Linked DNA regions of Homo sapiens: all the other regions are linked to region 4. The links are contacts of gene promoters, found by promoter capture Hi-C in blood cells and fetal thymus (Javierre and others, 2016). All regions are on one chromosome and are shown on one strand. Each heading gives the region's core, a stretch centred on a gene start or on the middle of the fragment in contact. The rest is flanking DNA. Distances are from core to core; before and after follow the strand shown.

Region 1 (4,840 bases), core at 1,297-3,796, 520 kb after region 4:
ATATATTAATACCCCTGAGATCATGTTATAAAAGAAACTGTGGCTTCATTTTTTTTTTTTTTTTGGCAACTTCACTCTGTCTGTCTCTTTGTCTCACTGTCTTGATCTCTCTCTTTCTCTCTTTCCCTTTCTCACATCTTTTACTTTGGGAAAGACCAGCAGCCATGTCCAATAGCTTTATGGAGAGGCCATCCTTTCCAAGTGAATCTCTAGGCGTCTCCTTCATTTGACTTCACAGTGAAGCAAGCACCTAGAGGGGATGAGAAGGAAAAGTTTCCCACCCTCAATCTCTCAGTCCCCACTTGATCTCTATAACAATTTCACTCTGCCCAAATTGTGTCTAATGTGGACACAGTGGGGTGAATGATAGGGATGCATTGGCTTCCTTCTAGTAGGCCCTGCTAGGAAGTGAGGTGTCAGTTTCAAGTACTGATGACTTTTTGGTTGTGATTTCATTTTTAGAATGAGGAAATATTATTTGCCTTTTGTTCACCAATATCATCACTACCCTGTACCTATTAATTACGCTTATATTTCCTTCCTTACAAAACCTTTTGTTTTTCCTGGAGTTAATAATTACCTCCTTTTTCTCACTTATTTGGTTTTCTTTAAACATCTAAGTCTTCCTGACACTTCCAACGGACTTGTAAAATCCCTCTTCATACAATTTTCCTCACTGACACTTCTCAGATAATTTGCCTTTGTCCTGGAAATTTTATTTTCTTCTCTCAAATAGGGTGATGCATATCCTGAGTTAATGCCTCCCTCTTTCTCAGCCTTCTTCTTTGGTGAAACCCATTCTTCCATAGCTTGTTGCAAATGAGCCACATGAGAGGGGAAACATTTCAAGATCATTCATGTCTAAGAATGTGCTTAGTCTGGCCTCACACTTGACTGATAATCTGGCCAAATATAGGACACTAGGTTGAAAATGACTTTTGCTCAGAATCTTTCTGACACCATCTTCTAACTTTTACCCTTCCATTTTCACTCTAATTCTCAATCCTTAGTGTAAAACTGTTTTTTTCCTCCACTGGAATCTTGAGGATCATCCTTTTATCCCTAAAATTTAATTAGATTTAAGTTGATATGGATCTCTTTCCATTTATTGTGCTGGGCACTCAGTATTCTATTCCGGGTGTTGCAGGGGCTGTGCTGGGCCCTACATTTTAGATTGGTCTCCACACACCCCAAAACCAAACGCATGGTTTAATTCCTTTCACTCTCCTTGGAAAATATTTTAAAAGTCCAGCAAATAAATAAAAAACAGGAATTGTGGGAGAGGGGCACAGGCAGAACTGTGGTCCTCAAGTCCTGAGGATGCAGAATTGAGAAGGTACAATGAGAATAAATTCACAGCTTCTGCTCTGGGACACCAGAGAAAAAAATGAATGCTTTTGCTTAATGTTTTTCAGCTTAAAAAGACCAAAGAGCACATCTGGGCAGACAGGTTCACCCACTCTCCCTCCATAAATGCACTCTCTACTACTCCTGTGGTCAGTAATATCATTTGGGGAGCTGCTTAGAACCTCCTGGGAAACCCAAATCAGAAGTGAGGCAGGGCAGAGAGCATCGCTTGCCTAGCAGGCTCCCACAAAAGCTTGGCCAGGTCAATGCTTGGCCCCCACCCAGCTTCCACCCTGCTGCTCCAGCAGACAGCCCTACCCCTCTCCATCCTCCCACCTCCCAGCTTGCAGTCAGGGTTAATGCAGGGAAACACATGTTCCTTTAGCCTCCTGGCTAGTTGAGAAAGGCAGTTTCCAAGAGACAGACTGCAGGACTTATGTGGAACCTGACATGAATCTAGGGTCTAGACACTTTATAACTTATAGAGTAGGGGCTATAAAGTAGGTGGGGCTCCATTTGTATTCCTGCACTGGGCACTGCAAATGGTTAAGTGTGGGCCTGCGGATCAACATTGGGCCCTTTCAATATGGAGAATACACCTTAAGTTCTGGGAAATCTAGTGTTTCATTGACTATTTCTTTCCCATATAGTCTCTGTTTTCTTTGTCTAATGTTGGTTGAATTTTTTTTTCTCACCCATGGATCATCTCTTTTCATTCTATCTTATGGGAGAGTTCCTTAACTTTATCTTCTACTGCGCTTATCATCAACTGAATTTATAATTGCCAATATTTCTTTTTGTTTTCCAGTCATTCCTTTATTTAATAACATCCTATTCTTGTTTCAAAAATGCAGTGTCGGCTGGGCGCAGTGGCTCACGCCTGTAATCCCAGCTCTTTGGGAGGCCGAGGCGGGGTGGATCACGAGGTTAAGAGATCGAGACCATCCTGGCCAACATGATGAAACCCCGTCTCTACTAAAAATACAAAAATTGGCTGGGCATGGTGGCGCATGCCTGTAGTCCTAGCTACTCGGGAGGCTGAGGGAAGAGAATCGCTTGAACCCAGGAGGCGGAGGTTACAGTGAGCTGAGATTGTGCCACTGCACTCCAGCCAGGTGACAGAGCGAGACTCTGCCTCAAACAAACAAAAAAGATGTAGTGTCTATTCTTATTTCTTGAAACATATTACCATTTCTGAAAGGTTTATCCTGCTTTTTATCTTGTTTCTGTCTCCTTCCAATTCCTCTTTTTCTGTTTCTTTGAGTCTTATTTGATGGAGATTTTCTTCAAATAGCTGATGAACTTTTTTTCTATTCATACATTAGAGTTAGACGCTAAGATTATCAGAAAACTCTATGTGCATTGCAAGAATTATGTAGAATCAGGTCCTCACAGGAGGGAGGCTGGATGCCCTGGTATTTTGTGTAGACCTACAGCTGCTTTCTCTGAGAAAGTGCTGATCCTTTCGAAGAATCCTCCTGTCTCCTAACCTGCAAACATCATCCTCACTGCCAGGACCTTGAAGCTGGCCAGGATATGAGGTTGGATATCCTCCATTTATTTAACGGGCTTTCACTTGATTGGCTTGTTTTCAGAGTAGAATTTCACTCATGCCCTCTTTAGTAACGCCAAGTTGTCCCCAAGTCCATTGCCTCTCTGGTTCAGTTTTTCTAAATAAACCTACTCCCTCTTGCTGGAACAAAGGGGGATGTGAACCCCAACAGTTTCCTGCCACCTGTCTCACCATCACCTTCCCTCCTACAACATAATCCTCAGAGGTCCTGCTGTCCGCAGCCCTGCAGTCTTACAAGGGTGCTATGAGACCAATTAACATACATTTATTTGGTGCCACTTTCCAATAACAAGAACTTCACAGGTGCTTGAATACAACCCTCTTCCTTTCCACTATGCCAGGAACTATGGCTCTGCCTGTACTTAGTCTTCATATATTGTTGCTTATATTTGCCCTATAAGATTTATCAAAGATGAAATTTGCTTTCTTGTTTCCTGATATTATTGTGTGGGGATGGTCTTTGAGAAGAAAGAGTTAAGAAATGCCTTTACTACTGAAACTATGTCACCCTCAGTTATAATTTAGGAAAGCAATTTGCCAATATGCTAAGGAATCTAACAAAAAGTCTGACAGAAGCTTATAAAACAAGTCTTCTGTTTCCATCATTCCACTTAAACAGCTGACATCACGGTACCAGTGACCTCCAGCTTGCTAAAATCAATGGACTTTTTCAGTCTTCATCTTAACTTTCTCAGCAGTGATGGGCATCGTTTGTAATCTGTCTTACTTAAAATATTCTCTTCCTTTGATTCCATGATACTTATATGCATTTGTTTTACGTTGAACTCTCTGGTTGCTCCACTCATTACTTCTTTCATTTATCAAATATATATTGAGTGCCTTCTGTATGCCAGGAATTTTGCTAGGAGTTTAGAATGCAATGATGAATACAAAATCATGGTCCCCACCATTCAGGAGCTGACACCTTGTGTGTCCTTTGCAGATGCATCTGTTTCCATCTAGCTGTGAAATTATGAAATTCCTCTATTTTTTGTCTCTTGCCTCTTGTCACTATATATAATATCATCTCCCTAGAAAAAGTCATCCTTGCCAACAGCTTTAATTATTATCTATGTACCAAAGGCACAAAGTTAAATCTCTTGCCAAGACTCCTACTCTGAGCTTCACGCCTTTATCTATTTGACATCCCCATTTGAATATTTTAAAGTTGCCACTCAGTATTTCCAAAACAAAACTAGATCTGGTAATCCCAACTCTAGTGAACATTGTCCAACCATTCATGCAACATAAAATCTATAGCTTTGACTGTGTCTCATTCCACATAAAAAGTCTACCACCAGTTTCTCTCTCCTGTTCTAATTTTCTAAATATGTCTCATCTCCATCCACTTGTCTCTATCTCTACTGTCCGATATGGTAGCTGCAAGTCACATGTAGCTGCTTACATTTAATTAATTAAAATTAAAAATGTTAAAAATATAAAATATAAATAAAATATAAAATTTTACATTTAAAAGCAGCCATATCTGTGGAATAGTAGATATACAACACATGTATCATCACAGAAATTTATATTAGATAGCACTGCCTTAGACTTTAAGCTAAAATGATGGTTATAAGATACATAACTTATATAAAAGATGTCATATATATATGTAATGTGAAACCTACAGTATCAGTAAAAAAATAAATAACTGTACAAACGCACTCAAAAATACTACATATAAGCCAAAATGGAATTCAAAACAAAATATTCAAGTAACACACAGGAAGGTAGCACATAGAAAACAGAGAAAAAACACAAGATAAGCACAAAACCTAGAGTAAAATGACAGACTTATTACTCAATATATTAATAATTATGTTAAATGTAAGTGATGTAAACTAAATGCTTGAAAATTAAGAGGTTTTGGGATTACAGAAACAGACTAGCCTGTACCATTATCAAAATTTACTCAAT
Region 2 (5,216 bases), core at 1,792-4,291, 580 kb after region 4:
AGGACATATACAAGTGCTATGTGGACAGTCCGAAGGTATGCTTTGGAGATACAGAAAAGGGCAAAGAGTAAATGTAAAACTGGGGCAGATTCTGAAGGCATTAAGTGTCATGCCACACACAAACTATTAACAATAAATTATCAACCTTTTAAAAGAGAAGACCAAAATGATCATATTTGCATTTTACAAAGATAAATATTGTGACAGAGCAAATGTTCATTTGGGAAGAGGAGAAGAGGAGAAGACTACTCAATCTAGTTATTAAAATGAGAGCATTCACAGAGGAACACAGAGGTGAGAAGGGTGTGTTGTCAGCTGATTGTCCCTGGGTCTCTTTCAGCACCATCTTCTACTTTCCCGAATCACCTGCACAGTTCATGGCTGCTCTAGAGCTACCAACCCAATGGGTCTAGAAGCAGTCAACTGTTTCCTGGGGCAATAGATAGACCCTTGTGGGGGCCAGGCATAGCGCCTTACACCTGTAATCCCAGTGCTTTGGGAGGCCAAGAAAGGAGGATCGTTTGAGGCCAGGAGTTCCAGACCAGCCTGGGCAATATAGTGAGACACCCATCTCTACAAAGAAGTTTTAAAAAATAGATCCTTGAAAAAACCTGGGGCTGAACCTGTTTGGCATATTCCACATAAACTTTTTCTTTTTTCTTTTTTTTTTTTTTGAGACAGGGTCTTGCTCTGTTGCCCAGGTTGGAGTATAGTGGTTCAATCATGGTTCACTGCAATCTCAAACTCCTGGGCTCAATCGATCCTCCCACCTCAGCTTCCTGAGTAGCTGGGATTACAGGCATGCTCCATCATGCCTGACTAATTTTTGTATATTTAGTAGAGACAGGGTTTTGCCATGTTGCCCAGGCTAGTCTTGAACTTCTGGGTTCAAGAGATCCTCCCACCTCAGCCTCCCAAAATGCTGGGATTACAGTCGTGAGCCACAACGTCCAGCCAGAAGCTTCGAACTATAATATGTTGCTGTATCTAATCCACTTCTTAGATGAAGAAATTTAGCCCCAGAGAAGTTTAGTAACTCACCCAAGGTCAAACAACTTATCACTGGCTGAGTCAGGACTCAAATCTATCCCAAGACCGGAGGTTTCATGTTTCATGCAACAAAATGAAAACACAATAAGAACAAAACAAACCAAGAACCAAAACTCAGACTCTCTGTTTCTTGGGTCAGTTGTTTTTCTATGACTGAGTCACATCCAAGTGTGGATATTTTTAGGAAAAGCTCTAATAATTTCAGAGCTCTTACAATAGACTAGGCAGAGCAGCAAGCTCTGAAACACCCTAAATAAACATAGTTACTCCTCTGGGTGTTTTACTAAACTGGACAGTTCGGCCAGGGCTCTCCTTTGTACTTTCTGCATCACATGAGAAGAGGTTGAAGAATCTGTAGGAGTGCCTTAGTGTAGGCACAAAGCTAATCATGGTGGGGGAAACAAGCTCTTTAAGCAGCAATAGCAAAAAGCAGTGGGTCAGGTGGTTTTTTAGAGAGGCTGACATGAAAGGAAATTCAACAGAAGATAAGTGCACTTTCTGAGTTACTACTTTAGATGAAATACATGTAACCTGTCTGATGCAGAGTTAGGTAGGTAGCTAATGTGGGGTGTGATATAAGATAACCCAGACCCAAACCACATACCTACCATACCTCCAAAGCTGTCATTTACCGCCATAAGAAACAGTATTTGGGAGTGGTAAGTCATCGTCTCTAGAAACTCTTGCCTCTCCCTTCTATTCCTATTAAAGTGACTTAATAGGTGATGCATTATTTCATTCATTAATATCCTCCGTTGTGCTGCTTGGTAATACGTGCTATGGCAGCATGAGGGTTTAGGAGAAATGACTACAAAACAAATGTGGTTTACAGATGTTTTATTACAGACTCTCTTTTAATCCCCCAATCAGTTCTTTTATATAGATAATATTTTCCCCACTTAGGATGAGAAAACTGAGGCTCAGAGAGGTTAAGGGGATAGGCCCACGTTACATAGCCGGACAGAAGCAGAGCTGGGATTTTCCCTGTTGTTGTTGTTGCCTGTTGCTAGACACGGCCTTGCTCTGTCACCCAGGCTGGAATACAGTGGTGTGATCTTGGCTCACTGCAACTCATGCGACCCTCCCCGCTCAGCTTTCTGTGTAGCTGGGACTACAGGTACCCACCACCACACCCAGCTAATTTTTGTGTTTTTTGTAGAGATGAGGTTTCACCATGTTCTTGGGCTCAAGCCATTCACCCACCTCAGCTTTCCAAAGCACTGGGCTTACAGGCATAAGCCACCACTCCTAGCCTAGAGCTGGGATTTTAATCCATGCCTTCTGAAGGCAAATACTTATTCTTTTCATCACATCTGTTTGGTATATCAGCAGAAATCATTAAGACAAATGGGACTCACCACTGAAAAAAGGTACAAATATAACACATAAGAAAGTGTGGTATAAATAACAGATCCAAATTTAAAATATATATATTTAGAAAACCTTTATATCAACCAGCTTTCTAGATATTACTGAATATACTATGCTTGTGGATTTAAAATGTATCTAGGAAATACAAGCCCACGTCCTCACAGGTGCCTCCTAGGAAAAACCGGCAGGTTTGTGTTTGTTTTGTTTTTAATGATCTAAAAGAATTCAGCAGATAAATGTTTCCCCATATACCTGAAAAACCCACTCATCCTCTTAAGGCAGGTCACAAAACTGAAGAATTTTTAAACAAAGCAGAAATTTTAATCCAAATCTTTCTCCTATTCTGTTGGTGATAAACCGACTAAAAACAAAAGAACAAAACCACTGTTCTTTAAAGTTTAAACTTTCATCTGCACTCATTCTTTTTTTTTTTTTTTTAGACAGAGTCTCGCTCTGTCACCCAGGCTGGAGTGCAGTGGCGTGATCTCGGCTCACTGCAACCTCCACCTCTCAGGTTCAAGCGATTCTCGTAACTCAGCCTCCCGAGTAGCTGGATTACAGGCGCTCACCACTACGCCAAGCTAATTTTTTGTATTTTTAATAGAAAAGGGGTTTCTATTAAAAATGTTGACCAGGCTGGTCTCGAACTCCTGACCTTGTGATTCACCCACCTCGGCCTCCCAAAGTGCTGGGATTACAGGCAAGAGCCGCCGCGCCCAGCCTGCACTCATTCTTTAGAAGAATAATGCCCAAGACCACAGCCTGCAATGTGCACACAGTCACCTGGGCATCTTGTGAAAATGCGGATTCTGATTCTACGGGACTGAGGTGGGGCCTGAGACCCTGCATTTTAAACCAACCCCACACTCTGAGTAGCAAAGCCCTAAAATACTTTTGTTTGTTTAGGTTGACATATATTGTCAAATGCCGGCTTCTCTCAAACACCAGTGAAAGAACCTTTTCATAAGGCAAAGTTGAGTTTATTGCTCACCGCCATAGGGAGATGGCTACTGTGAACTGCTGGTCCCCAACCTTTTTTGGCACCAGGGACAGCTTCCATGGGACAATTTTTCTCCGGATGGGGTGGTCAGGTGGGGATAGTTTGGGGATGAAACTGTTCCACTTCAGATCATCAGACATTAGATTCTCATAAGGAGCACACAACCTAGATCCCTCACATGCACAGTTCACAATAGGGTTCGCACTGCTATGAGAATCTAAAGCTGCTGCTGATCTGACAGGAGGCGGAGTTCAGTCAGTAATGCTCACTTGCCTGCTTCCCACCTCCCGCTATGCAGCCTGGTTCCTAACAGGATACCTTTAGGTAAAGTTATTGCAGGGGTAGGAGACCCCTGCGGTAAACCAAAAATAGAATTTGAAGGCCCCTGGCAACGATCTGAATGGACTAACTCTTTGGCCAGGGCATGTAAAATTTAACCTGAAAGACTGGCTCAGGCCGTGACGGGAAGTGAGGGTTGGACATGCCTCATTAACATTAACACAGACCTTAAGTCTGATAAGAAATACTTACAATCTATTTTTCTTTAAAGCCTGCTACCTGGAGGCTTCATCTTCATGATAAAACCGTGGTCTCTACAACCCCTCCTGGTAACCCAGACATTCCTTTCGTAACTCTTTCAACCAATTCCCAATCAGAATATGTTTAAACCTACCTATGACCCGGAAGCTCCTCTTCTCTCCTCACCCTTCGAATTGTCCCACCCTTCCAGACCGAACCATGTAAATCTTCCGCATATTGATTGATGTCTCATTCTCCTAAAATTTATAAAAGCAAGCTGTACCCCAACCACCTTGGACACATGCTGTCAGGACCTCCTGAGGCACGTCCTTAACCTTGGCAAAAAAAAAAACTTTCTAAGTTGACTGAGACCTGTCTCAGATATTTTGGGTTCACACTATCTAGATTCTTAGTAGTGTCTCAAAGCCAGGTGCCAAAGTTGGGATATTTATAACATTGAAGGTGGGTCTTTCAAGGTGGGGGCATGAGGTTGATCAGAATTTGGTAAAGATCGTGATGTGGTAATTAAGGATCAGTAAATGCCATGGATTTTGAAGAGTCCTGAGGAGTAAAAGGTTGTTCAGCGCTATCAGCGGGAAAGTTGAACAGTCTGGTTTTCTCAAGGGTTGTTTTCTGGGGAATTTCCTGAAACAAAAAACAGTTACTTGCAATTTTTATCTTTCTGGACGAGAGTTTCCTGGAATAGCTGACTTTTGTTGAAGACAGTGAATAGTACAGTCATTGACAGTAAGCTGTCTGGGTGTCCATGCTTTCCGGTTTTAATACAAATCTGCACTCACATAAAATAGTGATTGCGCATCCGTTGTGACGTGGCGCTTTGGTGTCAGACAGCACCACCTGCTGGCTCATGAGGGTTAAAAACGTTTAGAACTGCAAAAGTTACTTTTAACAGCAGGGCTCTGCTGCCACCTATCGGTTTATTTTTAAACTTTTCAAATGTTTTTCTTTTATTTAATACAGGTCTACTATACTAAGCACCAATCATTCAAAAAAAAACAGGTGCTATAAGTAGAAATGTAGCGCAATATTGTGGAGGCGGACATGAAGGCAGGTGAGGTCCTGGTGAGGTGGTAGAAAGATGATTAAGGACAGGATACAGTGTACAGCCCAAAGGACAGAGTTGTCTATCTACTACGGATGACCAGTGTGGGGGCAGTTAGGGAAGCTTTACAGAGGTAAGGAACCCTAAGGTGTCTCTTGAATAAGAATTGACAAGTAGATATGAGAAGGAGGAGTTAGGAATTCCAGGCAGAAA
Region 3 (4,622 bases), core at 195-2,694, 530 kb after region 4:
TTATGTTATCCAACCAGATGCCTTGGCCATAATCATTGAACCAAATTAACTCACATGTTTTAAAAACAGACATTGAAGCTTAACAGAATTGCATCAAAGTAAGATTTGAACCAGGAGTTTCATCCATTCTCCTAATGACCCATTTCTAAACAACTGCTTCTTCCTTATCACTGAATTGGGATAGGGACCATGGTGAGAGGTAGAAGATGGTGAATCAAAGAAACTTCAGTTTTTCTTATCGCATTTTGAGTCACATAAGGAAATGTCAGAAAAGAGTTTATGTATCTTTTGCTGACCTCTCCAAAAGGTTTAATAGAAATGCACTATGGAATTTTATCCACCACTATTTTCCTTACAAATGAGCCTCTTCTTTAACCACTCCAACACTCACCTTGGTGAAGCTGAATGCAGGTTTAAGGATGGAAAAAGGAAGCTAGGGAAGAGCTCATTATTAGATCTGATAACCCCCCAGGACAATCCTACACAAAAACATCACAAAATCTTTTGTATACAAAATCTATTTTCTCTCTCGATCACTAGAATTTCCTCCAAGCAGTATTGTCTTCTACCCTCTCTTAAAACTAGTGTAGTAAGAGACTCTTTCTTAAGAACGTATCATTGGTTTCTTAGGAAGAGTCTGAAATGGTGGCTCTTCTGAGTAGTGTTACAGTCCCCCTAAGTGGCTTGTCCCCTACTCATTCCAAGAAAATCACTGCCATTACCATCACCGAAACAATTCTGTTAAACCAATATTTAATTGAGCGAATATTAAGTGAGACAAAACGTACTGAGGATACAGAGTTGAATGGACCCTGCCTCCAAGAATCACACAATCTATTTGGGGGGAGTGGAAAGGTTAGACAACATAATCTGTGAGGAAATCAAATGTTAGCATCAGCTCTAACATTTGAGCAGACTTGCTGGTTACCCCCAGGGGTTGCCAGACACTAGCAACACGAAGACAAGTTAGTTACTGCCTCTAACGCCAAATGTATTGCTGGCTTACAGAAGTTCAGGGGAACTTTCATAAAGAATGTGGTATTTCAATTGGCCCTTAAAAATGGGTAAGATTTCATCAGGGTAAAACAGGCAGGGTTATCAGGAAGAAGGAACAGTCATGTAAATACACATAGAGGTAGACATAGGAGAGTGGAGAACACATCCAGGAATGGCAATTAGTCTAATATGTCTTAAGAGGATATTGCAGAGATGATGGAAAGTTGAGGCCATATTATGAAAAGCCGACTTGGAAATAGAAGGCCGAAGAGAATTGCCTCATTGATACATAATAGCCTATTGGTGAAGATTTTTTAGCAGATTGAGCCAAATCAAATTATATTGTAGGAAGACAGATAGTGAACAAGAATTTAAAGCAGAGAAGAGGGGCATCACAATAGCACAGGCAAGGCACTGAGTAGCAAGATTACAGTAATGAAAGCAAGCACTATGATCAGCAATTTATATTTAATGTATGATACGGAGAGTCAGGGTCCAGGGAAAAGAAAAGATAACTCCACCTTGTGAAGCCTGAATTATTCCAGTGATGTATTGCAGTGAAGCAAAGCAGGAGTCAGTTTCTGAGTGGTATTGTGAGGAACAGGATGTTGGTGAGGAGATTTGCAGAAGGGGTAGGCAAGATGAGTTTGGCTACTGGCAATTAAGTTACCTTAAGAGAACCTTGTTGGAAATACCCCACAGGTGGCAAAAAAAAAAGAAGATGAAACTGAGATCCAGGGAATTTTGATTAACAATCATGGTTTTGCTTTATGCATAGAGATGTATGAGCCATTTGCTTAAAACTGCTGTCACCAAAATGGTGCACGTGATTCCAAGGGAAATGTAGAAAGACAGGAGGTGCAGGCCTTACCTGAACCAGACAAAATTCCAGTCTAGTGAAATTCTTATGGGTATAGAGGAAAAGTCAGCAAAGGAAACAAGTTAGAGAAAGAAGAAAGTCAAGCCAGGCTCCTTGGCACCCGCCTATAATCCCAGCTACTTGGGAGGCCACGACAGGAGGATAACTAGAGCCCAGGAGTTCAAGTCCAGCCTGAGCAACATAGTGAGACCCCATCTCTAAACACATATATATTTAATATATGTTTCATTACCTATTTAGACTTCTGTTTTCTCTCACTAAAGTAAGCAATTTTTAGGAAGGAACCAAGAGTCGTTCTTGTTAGCATCCCAGGTTTTTGGTTGTCCCATTCCCTCTTCTCTCTCAGAGTAACAGAATCCCTAATGTTTAGCTGGGCATATGGTTCCCCAATATGAAGATGCATTTCCCAGCCTCCAGGCAATATGAGCAGAACTAATATGTGTAACCTCTAAGTTTTGTCCCTAGAGGGAAGAGGCATACCCTTCACTTCCACTTTCCTCCTTTTCTGCCTTATGAGATGTGGGTGTGGTAGTGTGTCACCTTGAACCATTTGCATAAGGGCAACACCATAGGGATGGCAGAGAATATATAACGAAAGGATTCACAGAACAAAGCCATCATAACAAATAAGAGAAATAAACCTCTATCCTGTCCAAGACACTGTTAGTATAGTGTTAGTATAGTGTTAGTGAGCTACACTGTTAGTATATCCTGAGTAGCGCAAACTAATCTGCATAGATTAATCCCAGAACCTAGCATAGCTTCCATTAGTTGCTTCATAAAGAAGGAAGGAGAGGAGGGAAACGATGTCTAAAGCCTCTATCAGTAAGGAGACATTTTAGATTATGGCAAGGCTATAGGAATCCAAGAAAGAGATTTTTCTTTAGTTGAATCAACCCACAGGTTTGACCTCTTGCATTTCTTTGCACCAAGTCAAGCTTGCTATGATGAAAATCTCCAGTCTGATCTTTCTTCACTTTGCCATTAATTGAATGAAAGGCTTTGTTATTATAAGTCCAGTCTTAAATGAGGCAAGAACTTCCCTCTTTGATTTGTGGCCTTTTGTTCTGAGATGCAGGAGATTTATGAATGTTTCACGGGGCTTTCAAATCCAAATTTATTCTTATGCCATTTCTGAGAGATAGACAGAATGCATATCAATATCATTCTATAAATAATCTCCCAAGACATTGCCACCTCCATAAGTAGGTAGTTAAATATTGAATGTTAAATAAAATGGAAACCCAAAGTAGTAAGTGACTTGCCCAAGGTTAGCACATCAAGAGATAGAACGAAGGCCTTCAGAATTCTTTCTACATCTCAACAGGCAAAAGATAAAATTCTAACAATTTAAAGATATTAATTGGCTTATTTGCAATTCTAGAATCAGACAACACTTTATTCCACAAAATAGAATAAGTGTTCTAATAAGCCAAGCAGAGGAGTGTGGTTTTATAGACAGAAAATGGCTAAATAAAGCAGAAAGAAAGAAAAAAAAGCGATTGGTGATTTCAAAGTTGTTTTCCTTTTAATGAAGGAACCAAGAAATAGAACAATAGAGAAATAACTGATTGTATAATATCAGGTTGCTTTTTCCTTTTTCTTTTTGGTAAGGATTAAAACAGAGAACACTTTATTACCCTGCCAGTTGAAACTGGCCTGTTTGGGAAATTAGACTGTAATCCCTCTCTCCTGATTTCTCAGGTCAGAAAGGAACTCAGTTTCCATTTGACTGGATGCCATGGAACTTCAATGTAAGGGACACCATTTTGATTTTTAGTCTGGACTGTAGGGGCCCAGTGCGGAAATTGACTCCAAAACAACACTCTCATAATTTTTAGCACAGCATAGCAGACTTCATGGACAATAACTTCTGGGGAGCCTCTATCATCACAGGATTTGCTGTCAATAAGGTTTCTCTGGAAATACTAGAAGGTATCTAATTCCTCATTTTTTCTGTTGGAAACCCAAAATGTCTCACTTTTCTCCCCCATCACTTATGAGGAAATACAAGCACATTTTCCTAATTTATTTTATACTGACAGTTGGAAAAGGAAAAAAGCAAAGAAAATTCCAATTTGTTTCCAAGTAATTAAAATCAATACAATCTCAACTTCTTCCAATCTTTGCTTCCATGAAAAGCAGCCCATAACAGCAAAGGCCTTGTTCACTTTCCTTTTCTGTTTTTACTAGGAAGTCCTACTGGAAGCATGTAAGCTTGCAAGTTCTCTTGCTTAAGGCACAAGTATTTGACATTTACATAAAAACATTTTTTAAGAACAACAGCAAGAATCCACCAAATGCCTAATCATGGGAGTTCCTGGCAGGCCTTGTGGGGGTTTTTTGTTTTGTTTTGTTTTGCCCCCCAGGGCTTTATGATTTTGATTAAGGTGCCTCAACAGGGGCCTTATATGAGCAGTTACTCAACATCAAGGACAAAGAAAACCTTCTATATGTCCTCCAACCCCCTAGGGCCACCAGAGACCTGCAGTGATCAAACCCCAGTGTACACAGGGGCTATATGAAATCACCAAATTGCTGGGCATTCTGTGGGCCCTTATAGTCCCAGCTACTTCGAAGACAAACAGGAGGATCACTCAAGACCAGATGTTCAAGGCTGTGGTGAGATTTGACCACAACTGTGACTAGCTGCATTCCAATCTGTCTCAAAAAAAAAAAAAAAGAAAAAGAAAAAAAAAACATTTTGGGAGGCCGAGGCGGGTGGATCACTTCAGATTGGGAGTTT
Region 4 (4,688 bases), core at 1,608-4,107:
CCACCATGTAAGACGTGACTTTTGTCTCTGCCATTATTGTGAGGCCTTTCCAGCCATGTGGAACTGTCAGTCAATTAAACCTCTTTTTCTTTATAAGTTACCCAGTCTTGAGTATGTCTTTATCAGCAGCATGAAAATGGACTAATACAGAGACTATATAAAGAACATTTACAACTCAGTAATAAAAACAGAAAGCAATGAATCAAGCTAAGTAGTTGGCAAAAGGTTTAAACAAACATTTCATAAAAAGAGGTTGTATGAATGACCCAAAGCATATGAAAAAATCATCAGCCTCACTAGCCATTAGGAAAATGTGAATTAAAACTATGATGAGATGCCATTACATTCTGACTAGAATGGCCAAAATAGAAAACAAAACAGAGTACCTACCAACTGTTGGCCAGAATGTGAAATAACTGAAACACTCGTATATTGCTGGCAATAGTATGAAATGGTGCAACCACTCTATAGAACTCTGGCAGTTTTTTCTTAAGTTAAACATACACTTATCATATGATTTGACATTTTTACTCATAGGTATTTACTCAAGAGTGAGGAAATTGTATATCCAGAAGAAGAGAAATACATGAATGTTGATATCAGTTTTATTTATAATGGCCAATAATTGAAAACCATTTGAATGTTCATTAACAGGAAAGAGAAATTTTTTAATGTGGTATATCCAACACTACTCAGGAACACTGCTCAGGAACAAACTACTGATTAATACAACAAAACAGAAGAACTTCAAAAACATTATGCTGAGTTAAAGAAGCCTCACATATAACAATACACACTCTATAACTGTATGTGTGTGTGTGTGTGTGTATATATGGCATCTATATATCTATATCTATAGATATATAGATGCATAAAATTCTAGAAATCAAAAACTCTCTTATTGTTACCAAAAGCAGATAAGTAGTTGCTTGGGAAAAAGGGCTGGAGGGGAGAGGGTAAACTGCAAAGGGCACTGACATTGTGGTCACACAAGTGTATACATTGTCAAAACTCTAACTGAAATGTGGACTAACATGTTGCATTTTATTATATGTAAATTATACCTCAATAATATTTACTTTAAAAGGCATAATGTAAAATATGTATGTACACATACATACAATATAATTACTAAAAAACCGTTATCTTTTTATGTGGCAGTTACTCATATTAAACTTTTTAACCCTCTCAATTCTCTCAACACATCAGTATAGTAATAGTGGCAAGTCCAAACTTCCCTAATTCTATTCCAAATAACTGTTCTAATTATCTGTAGCTCACCATTTAAATAGGAGTACTTGAGATAATAAAATAATTACCTAAATCACCCATCTCAATGAATGATTTAGAATTGAAGAGCCATTGCCAAACAAAAGATTGTAGATTTACAATTAACATCTAAGTATGCTGTAGTATATGTTTTTAATTTACAATAGAATCTGCCAATAATTTCCTCAAATAAGTTTCAAATTCCTAATAATGTAGAAATACATGTCATAAATACATAATATTCTTAGGTAAGATGCTATTATAGAGAAGAATTTAAAACATTTACAGTGACCTTCACAATAAAAGAAACCAGGGGAAGCATAAAATATCTTTTAAACTCCTTGTAGACTCCTGTTTCTGTCTGCAATATTCAATAATCTGTGGTCTGAATGGCTTATGAAATTGTGAGTTTCTCATCGTTTAGCCCATACCTTAGCTGCCACCAAAAGAAAGGCCTGTCTTAACTTAGCGTTTCCTAGAATCAGAAGAAAGGAGTGGCTTGAAGGAGAGAAGACTCCAATCGTCTCACAAAGCATGTAGATCACTGTGTTCTGATACAGCTCAGAAATCCATGATATGAGAACACATAGAAAGAAACTAGCATAGAATAAAAGGAATGAGATCACAATTTTCAAGGCATTTGTATGGACCTTGGTCCTGGGGTCTCTGTGTCCTTTGTAATTGAGTTGCATTTTCTGGAGATGTTTCTGCAGGGAGAAAATTAACAGGAGAAAAGAGATGAAGGCCACAGTAAATGGTGTTAGACTGAACATAGTCATAGTGAATTTGACCGACACTGAAAATGTTTCAAAGTCACTCATACTGAAATTCCAAGTTGTGTTTCTTTCATATCGGTCCAGCCAGTCTTTTATATGCATGTTTATTTGTATCAGATTTAAAAATAAGAAGACCAAGGTTCCTAGCAGTATCATCAGAATCACTTTGTTTACTCTCCACTTCAAATAGAGAAAAGCAGGGCTAGAGAAACTCGCTATTTTGAGCAAATAAAAGATGCTGAAGATTGTAGCAAGCCAGAGATTGAAGTGATTAGAAACTATCCAGCTAAAAATCATAATTCTTAATCCTGTTCCAGACACAAATATGGCTAGATAATGCAGAGCTAAAAACCAACTTACTAATATTTCCCAGATCAGCCCAATTCTGGAGATTGCCAAGATAATGAGGAGTTTATCGACTGAGGACAGCTCTCTTTTACTGACCCAGTCAATGCAGTTGATCAGTACTATAAATCCATTGCTCAAATTCCCAATTATGAATTCTGCAATTATTACAAGAGTGAAGATACTCGGCAGGGCACTTTCCATGTCAGAACAGAGAAAGTTCAATGTCTAATGTCACTGCTGGTTATTCACTGATCTAAAATGCTATTCACATCCTTGAGTGTCCAGTGGAGTTCTTCTTCCTTCTCCTTTTTCTGCTCCTTCTTTCATTGTTGGCTCAACGTCAAAGCAGAAATCTCTAAAGTTTGCTGATCGATCTTCACATAACTGTTCTGGTGATATCTTTATTTTTCTTCAATTTCTCTGCTGAGCCCTAGCTAAGATATTTATGTCTTCACCATGGGCAGAAATATTTCATAGATGATTATGCAGCAAAGTTAAACTCACATTTGCAACCATGCAAATAAAGATATATTCTCTTTCATTGTTTTGTACTTTTTTGCCTTGTCTGAGCATAGAAAATTAGATTCAACCAGCTTGAGTTCTGAGGTACAAATATTATAAAAATCTGATTCATAGAATATGTAGCTAAATGAAGCTTTTATGGCTAATAGCATAGCCAATGAAGCTTTATAAAATATGCAAAGACTTACCTATGCTATTTCAAAAGAGTGCTCAATTTCTTGTGGAGCTAAAGCTGGATCTGGTCAATACTGTGACTAAAGAGAAACTCGTTTACAAAGCATCCATCTTTCTCATTCCCTGCCTCATCACTACTTAGCAGTGCTCACCACCATCCCTCCATAGGCACCAAATGCCTTCACATTTTATCCGCTTTTCCCCTCATATTTCTTTTTTAAACTTAAAAGTGATAAAAAAACAAATTTTACAAAATCAGCAACAGCTACCAAAGAAAGCAGTACTATATTACATCATAACTTGCAAAACTGAAAACCAAGCAAAGAAATAGATACACTAGTTCCCCTTATCCATGAGGCCTATGTCCCAAGACCCCCAGTGGATGCCTAAAACAGCAGATAGTACCAAACTCTATATACAATATATTTTTTTCCTGTATTCACCTACCTATGATAAAGTTTAATTTGTAAATCAAGCACAGTAAAAGATTACAAAAATAACTAATAATAAAATAGAACAATTAAAACAATATACTATAATAAAAGTTGCCAGGGGTTGTGGCTCATCCCTGTAATCCTAGCAATTTGGGAGATTGAGGCGGGAGGACCGCTCGAGCCCAAAAGTTTGAGACCGGCCTGGGCAACATAGGGAGACCCTGTATCTAAAATAAATAAAAATTAAAAAAATAAAAAGTAAAAAAATGTGTTAAAATATATAGTGTGGTGTCTCTCACTCTCTCAAGATACCTTACTGTACTGTACACACCTATTTTTGGACTGTGGTTGACCTTGGGTCACTGAAACTGCAGATAAGCGGGGACTAATGTGTTCATTGTGAAGAGTCAAGGTTCCTCACCCCGCCCCACTCTTTCAAAAACTACCGAAAAAAAGTGGATTACCAAAATTCTGAAAACGTGGAGACTCAAGAAAGATTGTCTAATTCAAAATTAATATAAATAAAACACTTTATCTTGATTATAAGATAATAAGTAGCCATTTAGCTAGATGAATACAAAGCTATTTTTATTTAATAAAGATATAATTTGTGAATTATGAATGTTTGTATTTTATTACTCATGCAATCTTTATTGGGTGATCTACAGAGTACTAAAAAATTTACAAAATAATTGCATCATCTTTAATGATTTGCAAGTTTCAATTATAACTTAAAATAGGTAGATATTTTCTATTTTGTTGTTATAATGGTATATTTGTCAAGATAGAATAGAAAATGTCTCCTTTAACAGTTTGTTAGGTTTGTATATTTATGACCTTTAAATATGTAGCTATGTGGCATGTGGTCTTCCATTTGCATTCTTGACCCAGGGCTGAAGAGATCTTTTATACTTTTTCATTTTAGGGTGTTCTTCCTACCTATCTAGAGAAAAGGGTTTGGGGATGCCGGTCACAACTTGATAATACCCCAAATCTGTACAAATAGGCCTGAGGAATGGTACTGTACTTGCTGGTATATGAAAAAATACCACAGTTTTTAGAACTTGTGATATAACACATGACAAAGACATAGAGAATGGATAACAGGCTTGCGGTTCTGAGCTGCATTTTCCTGGTGTGTTTCCATAAGAGAAAACATTTAAAA

What was found. Contacts are between HindIII fragments. The CHiCAGO score rates a contact against its expected background, and 5 or more counts as called.
Region 1: a fragment that was not itself captured here is called in contact with the fragment with the promoter of TAS2R13 in region 4 in 1 of 17 cell types (activated CD4 T cells); the score reaches 6.2 in activated CD4 T cells.
Region 2: a fragment that was not itself captured here is called in contact with the fragment with the promoter of TAS2R13 in region 4 in 6 of 17 cell types (erythroblasts, naive CD4 T cells, M1 macrophages and 3 more); the score reaches 6.7 in erythroblasts.
Region 3: a contact is called between a fragment that was not itself captured here and the fragment with the promoter of TAS2R13 in region 4, in 2 of 17 cell types (activated CD4 T cells and total B cells). The highest score is 6.4, in activated CD4 T cells.

The regions. Positions count from the first base shown.
Region 1 is chr12:11,423,544-11,428,383 of GRCh38, forward strand. No RefSeq gene overlaps it. Among named protein-coding and RNA genes, the nearest start is that of PRB2, 30 kb to the left of the region's middle. The HindIII fragment of the contact is 1,896 bases long and covers 1,599-3,494 here.
Region 2 is chr12:11,481,955-11,487,170 of GRCh38, forward strand. It overlaps LOC440084 (a long non-coding RNA gene), which reads right to left and starts at 4,724. Exons shown (of 5, transcript NR_148969.1): 1 at 4,610-4,724; 2 at 4,095-4,197. The HindIII fragment of the contact is 4,165 bases long and covers 960-5,124 here.
Region 3 is chr12:11,442,109-11,446,730 of GRCh38, forward strand. The region is part of intron 2 of LOC440084 (a long non-coding RNA gene); the gene reads right to left. Among named protein-coding and RNA genes, the nearest start is that of PRB2, 49 kb to the left of the region's middle. The HindIII fragment of the contact is 2,736 bases long and covers 77-2,812 here.
Region 4 is chr12:10,906,705-10,911,392 of GRCh38, forward strand. It overlaps TAS2R13 (taste 2 receptor member 13), which reads right to left and starts at 2,858. Exons shown (of 1, transcript NM_023920.2): 1 at 1,222-2,858. The coding sequence starts at 2,594. The coding sequence ends at 1,683. The region is part of intron 4 of PRH1-PRR4 (PRH1-PRR4 readthrough); the gene reads right to left. It also overlaps a transcript of PRH1 not described here. The HindIII fragment of the contact is 14,745 bases long and covers 1-3,046 here.